5 separate regions of the Homo sapiens genome follow, and all the other regions are linked to region 3. The links are contacts of gene promoters, found by promoter capture Hi-C in blood cells and fetal thymus (Javierre and others, 2016). All regions are on one chromosome and are shown on one strand. The core of a region is centred on a gene start or on the middle of the fragment in contact, and the rest is flanking DNA. Distances in the headings are between cores, read along the strand shown. Region 1 has its middle 33 kb from the start of MON2. Region 2 overlaps MON2 (MON2 regulator of endosome-to-Golgi trafficking). Region 3 holds the start of MON2-AS1 (MON2 antisense RNA 1). Region 4 overlaps MON2 (MON2 regulator of endosome-to-Golgi trafficking). Region 5 has its middle 17 kb from the start of MON2.

What was found. Contacts are between HindIII fragments. The CHiCAGO score rates a contact against its expected background, and 5 or more counts as called.
Region 1: a fragment that was not itself captured here is called in contact with the fragment with the promoter of MON2-AS1 in region 3 in 2 of 17 cell types (naive B cells and total B cells); the score reaches 6.3 in naive B cells.
Region 2: a fragment that was not itself captured here is called in contact with the fragment with the promoter of MON2-AS1 in region 3 in 8 of 17 cell types (total B cells, naive B cells, naive CD8 T cells and 5 more); the score reaches 8.0 in total B cells.
Region 4: a contact is called between a fragment that was not itself captured here and the fragment with the promoter of MON2-AS1 in region 3, in 3 of 17 cell types (total B cells, naive CD4 T cells and naive B cells). The highest score is 6.3, in total B cells.
Region 5: a contact is called between a fragment that was not itself captured here and the fragment with the promoter of MON2-AS1 in region 3, in 1 of 17 cell types (total B cells). The highest score is 5.2, in total B cells.

What each region holds. Positions count from the first base shown.
Region 1 is chr12:62,432,566-62,435,265 of GRCh38, reverse strand. No RefSeq gene overlaps it. Among named protein-coding and RNA genes, the nearest start is that of MON2, 33 kb to the left of the region's middle. RefSeq lists an enhancer at 1-157. The HindIII fragment of the contact is 2,366 bases long and covers 193-2,558 here.
Region 2 is chr12:62,521,841-62,524,540 of GRCh38, reverse strand. MON2 (MON2 regulator of endosome-to-Golgi trafficking) reads right to left here. Exons shown (of 35, transcript NM_015026.3): 9 at 1-26. Among named protein-coding and RNA genes, the nearest start is that of MON2-AS1, 38 kb to the right of the region's middle. The HindIII fragment of the contact is 403 bases long and covers 1,103-1,505 here.
Region 3 is chr12:62,483,570-62,486,269 of GRCh38, reverse strand. It overlaps MON2-AS1 (MON2 antisense RNA 1), which reads left to right and starts at 1,328. Exons shown (of 2, transcript NR_186172.1): 1 at 1,328-1,501. It overlaps MON2 (MON2 regulator of endosome-to-Golgi trafficking), which reads right to left. Exons shown (of 35, transcript NM_015026.3): 2 at 2,037-2,100. The HindIII fragment of the contact is 7,471 bases long and covers 1-1,820 here.
Region 4 is chr12:62,538,059-62,540,758 of GRCh38, reverse strand. MON2 (MON2 regulator of endosome-to-Golgi trafficking) reads right to left here. Exons shown (of 35, transcript NM_015026.3): 17 at 2,583-2,663; 18 at 2,434-2,507; 19 at 2,254-2,344. Among named protein-coding and RNA genes, the nearest start is that of MON2-AS1, 54 kb to the right of the region's middle. The HindIII fragment of the contact is 3,550 bases long and covers 1-2,700 here.
Region 5 is chr12:62,448,727-62,451,426 of GRCh38, reverse strand. No RefSeq gene overlaps it. Among named protein-coding and RNA genes, the nearest start is that of MON2, 17 kb to the left of the region's middle. The HindIII fragment of the contact is 5,138 bases long and covers 1-2,700 here.

The DNA of each region.
Region 1 (2,700 bases), core at 126-2,625, 51 kb after region 3:
TTGGACTGTCTCCTAGATGTTCTATTCCAGGTGTGATGATCTATTCACAGGTTTGCTTCTTCTTTCTAGGAGGCGGGGGGTGTCTGACGTCTGTAGTCAGACATCTTGAACTGGACGATCCAGAGGACAGTTTTAATAAGGGAATGCTAATTCCTGGAAAACAGCAGAGTAGGAACTGCTAGGTTCCAAGCTTCACCATGTGTAAGCCCATTTTCTTGGGTAAACTTGCCCAGAGGGGCGTCTGGTCTCAGTCCAGTCCTGAGACATCAGGGGAGGATGGAGGAGGCTGTGGAGCTGAGCAAGTTCTCCAGGACACGGCGAACCTGCTTCCCCACTCAGACACAGCTGCGAAGCTGCCCTTCCTGTATTGTCACTCTGCAGCTCACCTCCTTGTTCTGGGATTCTGGGCAGGCGCTGTGGACACTCTTTGGGTAATAGTAAAACCCCGAAAAAAAAAGAGAGGGAAAACGGCCTTAGATAAAAATATTAATTATATCAGAGACGACCTCACTAGAATGGAGAACTAACGTCGTCATCAATCCAGTGCTACTCACACTTGAGCACTAAAGGGAAACTAATGGCAGAGGAGGGTAAAGCATGCGTGGGGTGGGTTGTAGGACCCAAAACGGTCTTGGGGAAGTAGTTTTCTATTATAGCTTAAAAATAATTCATTAAGTCTTGAATTGTATTTTCTATGAGATCTGTTTGTTTTGCTATAAAACGGTTTTAAAATAGTTACCACTGAGCAAAACTGATACTCCAAGAAGATGTACTGTGTTCATCCTGTGACTCTACTGTGACGTTCGCCTCAATTTGAAAACACAGATCTATTCCTTTCTTTAGTTTTGCCTTAATATAAAAGTTCCCCACACCTCAAATTACTGGGAGAAAATTAAGTTGTTAAAAAGAGACAGGCGGCCGGGAGCGGTGGCTTACGCTTGTAATTCGAGCACTTTGGGAGGCTGAGGTGGGCGGATCACTTGAGGTCAGGAGTTCGAGACCAGCCTGGCCAACATGGTGAAACCCCGTGTCTACTAAAAAACACAAAAATCAGCTGGGCATGGTGGCGCACACCTGTAATCCCAGCTACTTGGAAGGCTGAGGCAGGATAATCCCTTGAACCCAGGAGGCGGAGGTTGCAGTGAGCCAAGATCGTGACACTGCAATCCAGCATGGGTGACAGGGCAAGATTCCGTGTCAAAAAAATAAATAAATAAATAAAAAGGGAGAGAGAGAGAAAGAGAGAGAGAGAGAGAGAGAGAGAGAGACATGGCATAGAAAGCACAAATATTCTTTATGTTTAAACTTGAGAGTTACATATCTTGAGATGAAGGATTATAATAACCACTAACTGACCAAACAGAAGATGCTTCTGCACTAGTGTGATGCCTTCAAATACTATTTACAAGTGCTTTGAGAAGTTTTCTTTGTTTTGTTTTGTTTTGTTTTGTTTAGACAGGGTCTCACTCTGCCGCCCAGGCTGGAATGCAGTGGCGTGATCTTGGCTCACTGCAACCTCCACCTCCCGGGTTCAAGCAATTCTCATACCTTAGCCCCCTGAGTAGCTGGGATTACAGGGGCGCACCACCACGCCTGGCTAATTTTTGTATTTTTTTTGGTAGAGACGGGGTTTCACCATGTTGGCCAGGCTGGTGTTGAACTCCTGACCTCAGATGATCCACCTGCCTCCACTTCCAAAGGTGCTGGGATTACAGGTGTGAGCCACCATGCCCAGCCTTTCCTTTTAAAAAAGAAAATAAAATGTAAATAAATCTATGGGCATGTCATCTTTAACAAGAGGAAATATTGGTTGAATATAGTGATGTTATTTATTCATATATAAAATACCTTCAGACCCACGTATTTAGTGATGCTCTGTGTATAATTTTGTACCTTTTTGAATATATATACTATTAGGATGCCTGAATCAGCTCTAGGAGGTATTTCTTCCTCAGTTAATGGCATCACTAATTGAACTGATCACCCAGTATATACCCTCAGTCTCAAAATGTCCTCTTCACATGCCCCGGAGTCTTGTGGAAAAGAGACATAGAAATTACTTTCATTGATGGAGATTTGGACACAAATCCACAGAGTTGGCCTCATGAGGTGCCTGAAGACTTCTTTCTTTAATCCCCTCATCCAAGTACTCAGTGTTAGGAGTTAGGATTAGGTTTGTCTGTATATTACAGAATACTCAAATAACACTGAATTAAATCAGGATTTTTTTTTTCTCTTACATAAAGAAGTCTAGATTTCTATTTCAATCCAAGATGGAGTAACAGGGACTGGATTTACACTCTTGCCAAAAACAACCAAAAATAAACCAGATAAAATATATGAAATAGCATTTCTCATAATATTGGGCATCAGTCAACAAAAGACAGTCATCACTGAGAGATGGGAAGTAAGTAGTAGGGCTCTATGATTTCCTCAGCTTACTGCCTTGAGAGTTTGCAGGCTATAGTGCAGAGAAAGAGAAATGGGATGGAGTGTAGTGAACATCCTGGGTTGAGAGATGTAGTTGATAGTCCAAGGAAACCAAGGTACCTCAAGCTTGCAGGGCAGAGTGCTTGGAGTGGAGATTTTCTTCACAAAGAGCAGATCTGCTGAGGATACACCCTTCAGGGTACTGGTCAGGGCATAAGTGTGAGAAAAGAAGTTGAGTCTGGAAGAAAAAATCATCCCGAAAGAGTAAAG
Region 2 (2,700 bases), core at 55-2,554, 38 kb before region 3:
GACAGAAATATCTCACATTCAGTTACCTAAAAATATATGATTTTTAATACTATTTCTTTGAATCAAAGAGAAGAATTATAGACTGTGTTCTTATTCTTAACTTAGTGCTATGGACAAACCAATAAAATCTTTTAGATTAGAAATCAAACTCTTAATGGGGAGTGGAGAAACAGAGAAAGGAAATGTAGTTATACATGGAAACATTAACAGTAAAAATAATCACAGTGTTTCTCTAAATATATACCTGAAAACATTAGTAATCTGCTAATACGGTTAATCCTTTATCCTTGCTCTTTAGAAAGCAGATAATACCATCATGCCATCTCCATTTCTAAAAACTGCCAGACAGCATGTACCACATAAACTGCTGACAGGATGCACGTTCTACTCTTCAGAGCAGTTTTTTCCATACTTTCTTTTGCTACTAAAGAAACAAAGAGGCAAGCCAAAGGGTGCTTAGTATAAATTTTATAGTAGAAAAATAAGGAGGAACCTATAGCAGTTGACAGATGTAAAGTATATAACTATTAGAACAGGGCCTGTACTGCTAATTAAGTATTAATTATCATTACTGTTGTTGCTAATATAGACCATTTCTCAGCAAGCTCTTTATAAATAAATAATGTTCAAGGCACACCCAAGGCATTAATCATTACATGTCTGATAACTGAATGAACAAACAAAAGCTAACCCGTTCATCCAAAGGTAAATGGATTGTTTTTGTTACTTATTAATTGACAATACAGCAGGACCTCTGGGAGGTAAAAATTAAGCTGACATGGTGATTATTAGGCCAAACTGATTCTTGCTACTAGGTACAGCAAGTTATTGGATGTTTTAGCTGGGGTATCTCAAAATGAGTGAACCATAATGTGAGACAAGAAATTTGGGGAAATATAGTAGCCCTCAGGCTTTTAGTGCAAAGTCTTAGCTGCTAGTATTTTCTAATGCCTTTCAGTATCTTTAACTGGATGCTTAAAAAAAGGACATAATCATAATGACACAGTAGGAGGAATAACTAAAAACAACATTATCATTTAGACTGCTAATGACTGGGTAAGTATATGCAGAGGCTTGTCATTGTCCTAAACATGATAAAGCTTAGTTTAAAGGAACTAGATCAGGAGTCAGGTGGCTCAACTTCTTTATCCAGCAACCTTGTGCGTAAGGACAAGCATGGTTGCCTTTCTTATAAATAAAGGATGAAAATATCTACATCTTTCTGGGAAATCAAATGAGAAAAATGTAAGAATAAAAACATCCCCTAAACATGACAAAGTGCCATGCAAATGAATAGGGCATTATTTTTTCTAAACAAAATGACACCTCTTTAGAGGAAGAACTGAGAAAGAAAGACCCATGCTAGTGACTCATTGGACAACAGCTCTATCTACTGGAGGGTTTGAATATTAGTAAGCCCTTCAACAAGTGCAATATCAGCTTTACAAGTGGCATAAGTGGCATATAAGTGTGTGTGAATGAATTTAAGGTTCATCAGCTAAGCTTTGAGGCAAGAATACAAAGGATCTCAGAAACATCAAGTATATTACAGCCGAAGGAATAACATTATAAAACTTGCCTTGAAAGCATATCATTTTTTCTCTATGACACAATGACTATAACACAAACCAATTATTTATCAATTTATACTGGAACCACTAAAATCTTATGATTTGGGTAAAAAAGAGAGGCTCTCTCCTGAAGTCTAGAACCTTGTTCTCCTTTTGTTTCTTCTTGTCAAGTGTGAAAGTTTGAGCAGAGAACTAGTGTTGAGAGCACTGAACACTGAACAAGGGCCTCAATGGAGAAAACCTACTATGAATCTGTTAAGACTTTCCCCCAAGTGGCTGCACTTATAAGGAAACAGGTATTAAGATTAGCACTTATGGTATAAATCCAATTTTTGTGACCCAGATATGTCATAAACTCCACTATACCAACATGAAGGGTGATGAATGTTTTTGAACTCCTGTAGTACTTTGGTAGTAGATTATTATCTAAACGTCAAGAGACATCTGATGGCTTAAGATGAATCAAAGTTACTGAGGTAGACATTCTAATCTCAATATCACATAGATATCTATTAAAGAATCCTGTATGTAAGAGTTGACTTGGCAGACAATGAAGAAAATCTGGTAGCACATTCATGTAGGAGTCTATTTGTCAGGAGCTTGTCCGAGTTAACAACCTTGGAGCTAATAGATTTGGTAGTGATGAGATCTTTTGTTAGAGAAATGTCTGTGAAGAAGTAGAAAATTAGTTTGGACAAGGCAATTTAGCCTCATTGATTCCTTTCTAAAAACAGTAAGTCAAGGGCAGAAAAGAGATATGCTAGCCTCTTTTTTTTTTCTCTTTTGAGACAGTTTCACTCTGTTGCCCAGGCTGAAGTACAGTGGCTCAGTCTTGGCTCACTGCAACCTCCACCTCCTGGGTTCAAGTGATTCTTGTGCCTTAGCCTCCTGAGAAGGTGGGATTACAAGCCACCATGCCCAGTTAATTTTTGTATTTTTAGTAGAGATGGGGTTTCGCCATGTTGGTCAGGATGGTCTCGGACTCCTGACCTCAAGTGATCCACCCGCCTTGGCCTTCCAAAGTGCTGGGATTATAGGCGTGAGCCACCACACCCAGCCACTAGCCCCTTATAATTAAGTTTCATAAATTCCTTAAGGGTACTTGTTTAAGGAATATGTGGGTACACAT
Region 3 (2,700 bases), core at 79-2,578:
ATCAGTCTTTTTTTAAAAAAAGTCTTCCACAAACTATAAAACCAATAAAAATTTGTATTATTGGAGAATAATTAAGGACTTACCACGGTATCAACAATGATATTAGCAACAGTAAATATTTTAAATATTTACAGTGATATTCTAATACGATTGGCCTATGGTAAGTCTCCAACATAAAAATATCCAGGTCATCATTTTTCTTTAAACACCAATTTCCCCACAGTAGCTAATCTGCCTAATGTACATCTCCCATTAAAACCCACATGCTGGCCGGGCGCAGTGGCTCACGCCTGTAATCCCAACACTTGGAGAGGCCGAGGCGGGAGAACCCCGAGGTCAGGAGTTCGAGACCAGCCTAGCCAACATGATGAAACCCTGTCTCTACTAAAAATACAAAAATTAGCCAGATGTGGTGTTGGGCACCTGAAATCTCAGCTACTCGGGTGGCTGAGGCAGGAGAATCGCTTGAACCCAGGAGGCAGAGGTTGCAGTAAGCCGAGACCACACCATTGCACTCCAGCTGGGATAACAAGAGCAAAAGTCCATCTCAGGAAAAACAAACAGACAAACAAAAAAAACCCACTTGCCAGCCTTCCTAACCCTACCATGTGCACCTCTGCCTTTACCCACCACTTTCACTATACCACTTCTCAATATGCACACAGAGCATTATTTACTTCTGTGCATAATGTTATAAAACTATTGGGTGTTTTGATAAGACTGTTCAAAATCAGGGAAAAAGCTGTGGGAAACAGATGTAATTGAGGAGCGCTTATGCTAAGGGCAAATTTCCAGCAAAGCTGGATAGCCTAAGTGAAATCCACTCTTGCCCCCGATCCTTAATCTGACCCCAAAAATCTTAATTTCATTTCATAACACTCTGAAATCCCACCAGTTACAGATTTACTGGTATCCCTTTTAAAAAATGTAAAGTATATGAAAGTTAAAGAGATTATTTACTATTTGGACTCTGTAAATTAATTTAATAGGACTACTTTCCTCATAGATTAGCTGAGATCAACAGCACTACTGGAACTGGAAATGCAGATTAAAGGATCACTGAAGCAAGCACTGGTTACATATGTAATACTTGGGAGTAAGTGGCTAACGTGGAAACCTGGTGATACCATGGTAGCACACTGTAGCAGGAAGAACATGGGCTCCTGAACACTCCTGGATTTTAATCTGGTTCTATCACCTTTCCTGTGACCTTGGGCAAGTAACTTAACCTCTTCACATCTCAATTAGCTCTACTATCAAATAAGATAATATTTCCCCACAAGGTTGTTATGTAAGATAGAATGACACAAGTGCCTTGCATATAACAGATTCTTAAAAAAAAAAAAAAAAAAAAGCCAGTTTACCTCTTTTCCATGTTCATTATTGAGGCAAGAACAAAAGGCACCAAGGAAGAGAAAGGAGTGGACTGGGTAGAAAAGAAGGATGCCAAAGAGAAACTCCTGAAAATTCCTCCTTGAAAATCAGGTTCAATCAAGAGAAGGTAAGAAAACATTTTTGTTTTCTTTTCTCTACTTCACTCTCATTCTTTTTTCATGATCATACTGCCTTAATCCCAAGACTCAAAATTCATACGGTACAACTAAATACAGAAGACTATGTTATGAACTGTTCGTATTATATTAAAGAGAAAGTAGATCACAGAAGGTGGACTGAGAACAAATCTTTCATTCAATACAATGGAACAAATATTACTGAATGCTTTTTATGGTGTGTCTCAGGTGATTAGCAGGAAGTGGAGGAGAATGCGAAGATGAGTAAGAAAAAATTCCTTGCCTTTAAGGAGTCAGTAGTGTTAAGCTTTCTGATTTCAGAGAATTTTTGTAGCATTCGTCTCTGGGAAATACAGTCAGTTCATAAGTTATGGACTTTTGCCCATTCTGTTTCATTATGAATAGCATATGTTAGGGCATGAGGAAGAGATGTTACAGAAAACTGATGGCTTTTACAATAAAGATTCTACTTTTACTATTAGTCAAATTTTTGTTTATTATTAAATTTTTAATACAAAAAATTACCTGCCAAAATTTCAGTGTTTCGTGCAGCAATTGTTTTAACTTTTATTATTCCTGATTCAGCAGCCTGCAAGAATAAAAATAATTAGAACACAAAATTTACTGCCAAAATGAATTATCTATGGAAAATAAGTCATATGTGATAGACAAAATATCAAGCACAAAGTCAGTCACTACCCTACCACCTTTTTAATTTTCAAACCATCAGATACTAAGCCCAGTAGTGACATATACGTTAAATGTAATAAAACATGATTAATTTGATTATTCACATGCAAACTCTGAATGCACTACAACATGTTGCCTTCCTCTGCCTTAAGGCATTATCTGGAATACCTCAATCCCCTGCAAAGTTAAATTTTCCGAGAATAAAAATAACAAACAAAAACAAAATCTACTGAAAATAATTAGGCTCCTTTTCCCCATTTCAAGCCTCCTCTCTCTCCACCACACACAAAAAAATTATAGAACACTGCAAAATCAAGTAAAACTACTGTGTTGGATTTATTTATTTATTGTTGATGGAGTTTTTTGCTCTTGTTGCCCAGGCTGGAGTCCAATGGCACGATCTTGGCTCACTACAACCTCCGCCTCCCTGGTTCAAGCCATTCTCCTGCCTCAGCCTCCCAAGTAGCTGGGATTACAGGCACCCACCACCATGCCTGGC
Region 4 (2,700 bases), core at 193-2,692, 54 kb before region 3:
AATTTCCATTCCATATTTACTTCACTTTACAAAATTAAATCCTAAAAGGGAGACATGTAAATCCATTTTCAAAGAAATTATCTCTATTTTACTCAGCGTATCCATTTTCTCCACAACTGTTCTTCCCAAGCCTTCCTTAAAAATCGTATCTGTTGCTACCACTCTCTGAAATTGCACTACTGAAAGTTAAAAATAAATGATTAATCATCAAATCTCCTATTTTTTTCTTATAGGTCATGATTTCCTACAATATTTTTCTTTTGATTTACATTAACCTGCCCTTTCCTACCTAAATCCTACCAATCTTTCAATATACATCTCCAATCACACTAGTTCATCTTGATTAATCTTAATTCATCTTAATAGAAACATATACCAATAACATCTTATATAACAAGGAACTAAAAATTCAGAGAGTAAGTCTCATGTCATTTAATATCTGTATTATTTATTGAGACTCTCATACCATAGTAATTGTCACTAACTATGAACCAAGTAGCTTATATACTCTTTGAAAGTAGAAACCTCTTATTTCTTAATGTCTCTGAGCAGATCGTCATGTACACAGTAAGCCTACTGTGCTTATTGAATAAATACATAGATTCTGAAAACATTACCATATAAACTTGCTTAGATTTCATTAAGGTACTTTATTAAAAATATTATAGTTTTGTGTTAAGAATCTCAAATATGTAGAATTATTAAAGGTATCAAAAAATTAATTACTTCATTATATATTATCCTTGCCCTGATTTAGAACAAACTATAATATATATTTTCTTTTTTTCTTGAGACAGAGTCTTGCTCTGTCGCCCAGGCTGGAGCGCAGTGGCACAATCTCGACTCACAGCAACCTCCGCCTCCTGGGTTCAACTGAGCATGTCCAGCTAATTTTTGTATTTTTAGTAGAGACGGGGTTTCACCATGTTGGCCAGGCTGGTCTCGAACTCCTGACCACAAGTGATCTGCCTGCCTCGGCCTCCTGCAGTGCTGGGATTACAGGCGTAAGCCACCATGCCCAGCCATAATACATACTTTCAAACACCTGCATGTTTATATAATTATCTAGCTAGGTACTATAATATATGAAACTATGCTCTAATGAGACTTTCTTCACCAATCTTTAAATGAGTCATAAGAGCCAAGATAACAAGCCACAGTACCCAAAATTACACTTAAGGACTAGGCAGATGGCCGGGCGCGGTGGCTCATGCCTGTAATCCCAGCACTTTGGGAGGCTGAGGCGGGCGGATCACAAGGTCAGGAGATCGACACCATCCTGGCTAACACAGTGAAACCTTGTCTCTACTGAAAATACAATAAAAAAATTAGCCGGGCGTGGTGGCGGGCACCTGTAGTCCCAGCTACTTGGGAGGCTGAGGCAGGAGAATGGCATGAACCTGGGAGGCAGAGCAGTGACCCGAGATTGCGCCACTGCACTCTAGCCTGGGCGACAAGGCGAGACTCCGTTTCAAAAAAAAAAAAAGACTAGGCAGACAACATAATTTTGAATGCTACAGTTACATGTTATAGCTTTAAATTATATAAATTTTAGCTTTTAAATCATATTTTGGGTTATTTTCACTTATTTGTAAATAGTCAAACTATATTTATTGATTTTAAAATGTGGAAAGTATTTTGTTTAATTATTTCTAACATATAAATAAATACAACTGTTCCTGTGCTTTCCAAGTATAACAGAAAGTGATATTTTTAGTAGTATAGAAAGAAATGTTCTTGAATGTTAATATTCAAAAGTACCGTTTTATTCATTTAATCAATGAACAAATAAAAATTTAAATTTTCAAGATAAGGAGAATCATTACCTTTAGAAAGAAATGATTAGCTCCTTACTTTCCATCCCAATGAAAGCAAAGGAAACTGAGACAAACATTCTTTAATTTAAATCTTATATTACCCCAATCATAAATTGTAATTACAAGTATTATCATGACATTTTATATAACCTATAAAACTGTATTATATTATTTTATAAAAATATTTTTAAAATGTTCAGTATATAAGAGAAATGAACACAACTTAAAATCATATGACATATTTAGACATATCACAAGCCAAATCATGTCCTTTTTACTCCTTCGACAAATAACGATAAGTGGTAAAAACCCAACAGAGTATGGTTACCATACAATCTGAGTGTTAGTTCTACTAGTAAAACACTAAGATCATAATGGATGTACATCTTATATAACTAATGTATCATATCTAAAACAGAAAGGTAGAATATCACACCTTATTATTTCCATAGGCCATATCCATTGCTTCTAGAGACAAGGAGCAAAGTGCATTTATTAAATGATGCAGTGATACATCATCAAGATACCTAAAAAGGAAATGAAGAAATAAGACATCTTGATCTAAAATATATAACAAATAACAATGTTTTTATCAATTAAAAAAACTGACTCTTACTGTGAGCTTTCAAACAATCTTGAAAGTATATTGGAAATCACTGGTAAATCTGTCATCACTGCTGTTGTTAGAACCTGAGAAGAATAAAATTAAATGTAATATATGACACTTTGGGATGCACTAATTGGGTAAGAAAGACTAGAGCTTACTGTACTGGGTCCTTCTACAGCTCTCCCAGGTTTCAAGGCACCGCCACTACTAGGCTTTAATCCCAGAATCCACACAAGATGCTGTAAAATTAAAAAAAAATCAAAACAAATAACTTTA
Region 5 (2,700 bases), core at 151-2,650, 35 kb after region 3:
AGAGGGGACCACATAGTGAAAGAATGCTTAAGAAAGCCATGGGGCGAGGTTGAAATGTCCACTGTAAAGTCGGGGTTGTGAAGAAATGTATTGAGATAATATGCATCAGATGCCTCTACCCCTGCAAGACCTCCCAGGCCTTCCTACTCCCATTCTACTTCATGACCTTGTTGTGTGTCTTAATATCTGCTAAGGCAACTCCTCCCCATGTGGTTCTTCTTTTACAGCTGAAAAAGATAAATAAGGATCTCTGTTCTTCTGTATAACTTTTGACTGTTGAATTTCTATTTAAAAAAGCTACAGCTGAAATTTTGATTGGGATTGCATGAAACTTATGGATTAACTTGGGGAGAATATCTATCTATCTAGATATATAGACATATAGATATTATCCCATTTAAGAGAATAAAATATCTTTCCATTTATTCAAATACTTCCCTATGACTTTTTTTTGGAGACAGGGTCTTGCTCTGTTGACTTTTTCTTTTGGAGACAGGGTCTTGCTCTTTTGCCCAGGCTGGAGTGCAGTGGTGCAATCACCACACACTATAGCTTCAGCTTCCTGGGCTCAAGCCATTCTCCTATCTCAGCCTCCAAAGTAGCTAGGACCACAGACATGCCATGACAACCGCCTAATTTGTTGTTGTTGCTGTTATTATTGTTGATGTTGTTGTCGAGATGAGGTCTCACTACATTGCCCAGGCTGGTTATGACTTTGAATAGATTTAAAATATTTTTTCATCGATAATTTCATAGATAATTTTTTCATAATTTCTGTTTTAAGTTACATTCTTAGATACTTTTGCTTGTTCTATTATATTTTCCATTGATTATTGCTCATATGGATGATTTGTATGAATTCATCTGGTATCTGGCAATCTTTCTGGATACTCGTATTCATCAAATAGCTTGCTTACTGATTCTGAGTTTCCTACATAGATTACATCATCTAGAAATAATGAGAGCTTTATCTTTTTTTTCAATTCTTACATCTCCTTTCTTCTTCTTTTCTTATACAACTTACCAGCTCCTTCAAAACCACTGAAAACTGTATGGCTGTATATGAGCAACCTGTGTTTTCCTGAGCTTAAAGTGAATGCATCTCAATTTTTTTCCATTAAGTATTATGTTTGCTCTGTTTTTGGTATTACACCTTTGTCAAGATGAGGGAGTTTCCTTCTAGTCTGTTTCTTTGTTAAAAGTGCTTTTTTTAAAAAAAAATTAGCATATGCGTATATGTGGGAATTATTTTATTTCATTTTATTTTGAGACAAGGTTTTGCTGTGTTGCCCCAGCTGGAGTGCAATGGCGTGATCTTGGCTCACTGCAACCTCCTCCTCCCAGGCTCAAGCAATTCTCCTGCCTCAGTCTCCTGAGTAGCTGGGACTATAGGTGTACACCACTGTGCCCAGCTAATTTTTGTATTTTTTGTAGTGATGGGGTTTCGCCATGTTGCCCAGGCTGGTCTCGAACTCCTGAGCTCAGGCAATCCGCTTGCCTTGGCCTCCCCAAGTGCTGGGGTTACAGGCATGAGCCATGGGGCCAAGCCCGTGGTAATTATTTTAAGAATCTAGTGAGTTTATCATGTAATTTTTTCTTTTAGAATATTAGGGAGAAGTTATATTGCTAGACTTTTCTGGTATGGACTATGTTTGCAGTCTTAGGATAAACTTGATTATAATGATTTTTTTTTTTTTGAGGAGTCTCACTCTGTCGCCCAGGCTGCAGTGCAGTGGCTCGATCTCGGCTCACTGCAACCTCCACCTTCTGGGTTCAAGCGAGTCTCCTGTCTCAGCCTCCTGAGTAGCTGGGATTACAGGCATGTGCTACCATGCCCAGTTAGTTTTGTATTTTTAGTAGAGACAGGGTTTTACCATGTTGGCCAGGCTGGTCTTGAACTCCTGACCTCGAGTGATCCACCCGCCTCGGCCTCCCAAAGTGCTGGGATTACAGGTGTGAGCCACCACGCCCAGCCAAATAATTTTTTTATTACACTTTTGGATTTAAGTCCCTTAATATAGGCATTTCCTGCTTAATCTCTGTAATCAGTTTTTGAAAATCAGATGTCATGAATGAAGTCACCAACCAGGAAAAGTTTTGATGCATTTCATATCAAGCCAAACCCCAAATCAATTTCCTAAACCATACGAAACCCATTTTAAAAATCCATAAAAATGAACAAACAGTACTGTAAGAATATAAAGTGCAGCCCGGCACAGTGGCTCACACCTGTAATCACAGCATTTTGGGAGGCCGAGGCAGGCGAATCACCTGAGGTCAGGAGTTCAAGACCAGCCTGACCAACATGGAGAAACCCTAACTCTACTAAAAATACAAAATTAGCCAGGCATGGTGGCATGTGCCTGTTATCCCAGCTACTTGGGAGGCTGAGGCAAGAGAATTGCTTTAACCCCTGGAGGCAGAGGTTGCATTGAGGTGAGATCATGCCATTGCACTCCAGCCTGGGCAACAACAGCAAAACTCCATCTAAAAAAAAAAAAAAAAAAAAAAAAAAAAAAAAAAATATATATATATATATATATATATATATATATATATATATATAATGCTTAAAACATCACTTCTTGATCACCTGAAAATTAAGACTGACTGTAAGCATATAGTTGCTCTGTAGGTATGGCTTGGCCTCTCTGGGCCAGCAACATCCCCAGTGCACATTTCTCTTGGTTTTGTTGACTC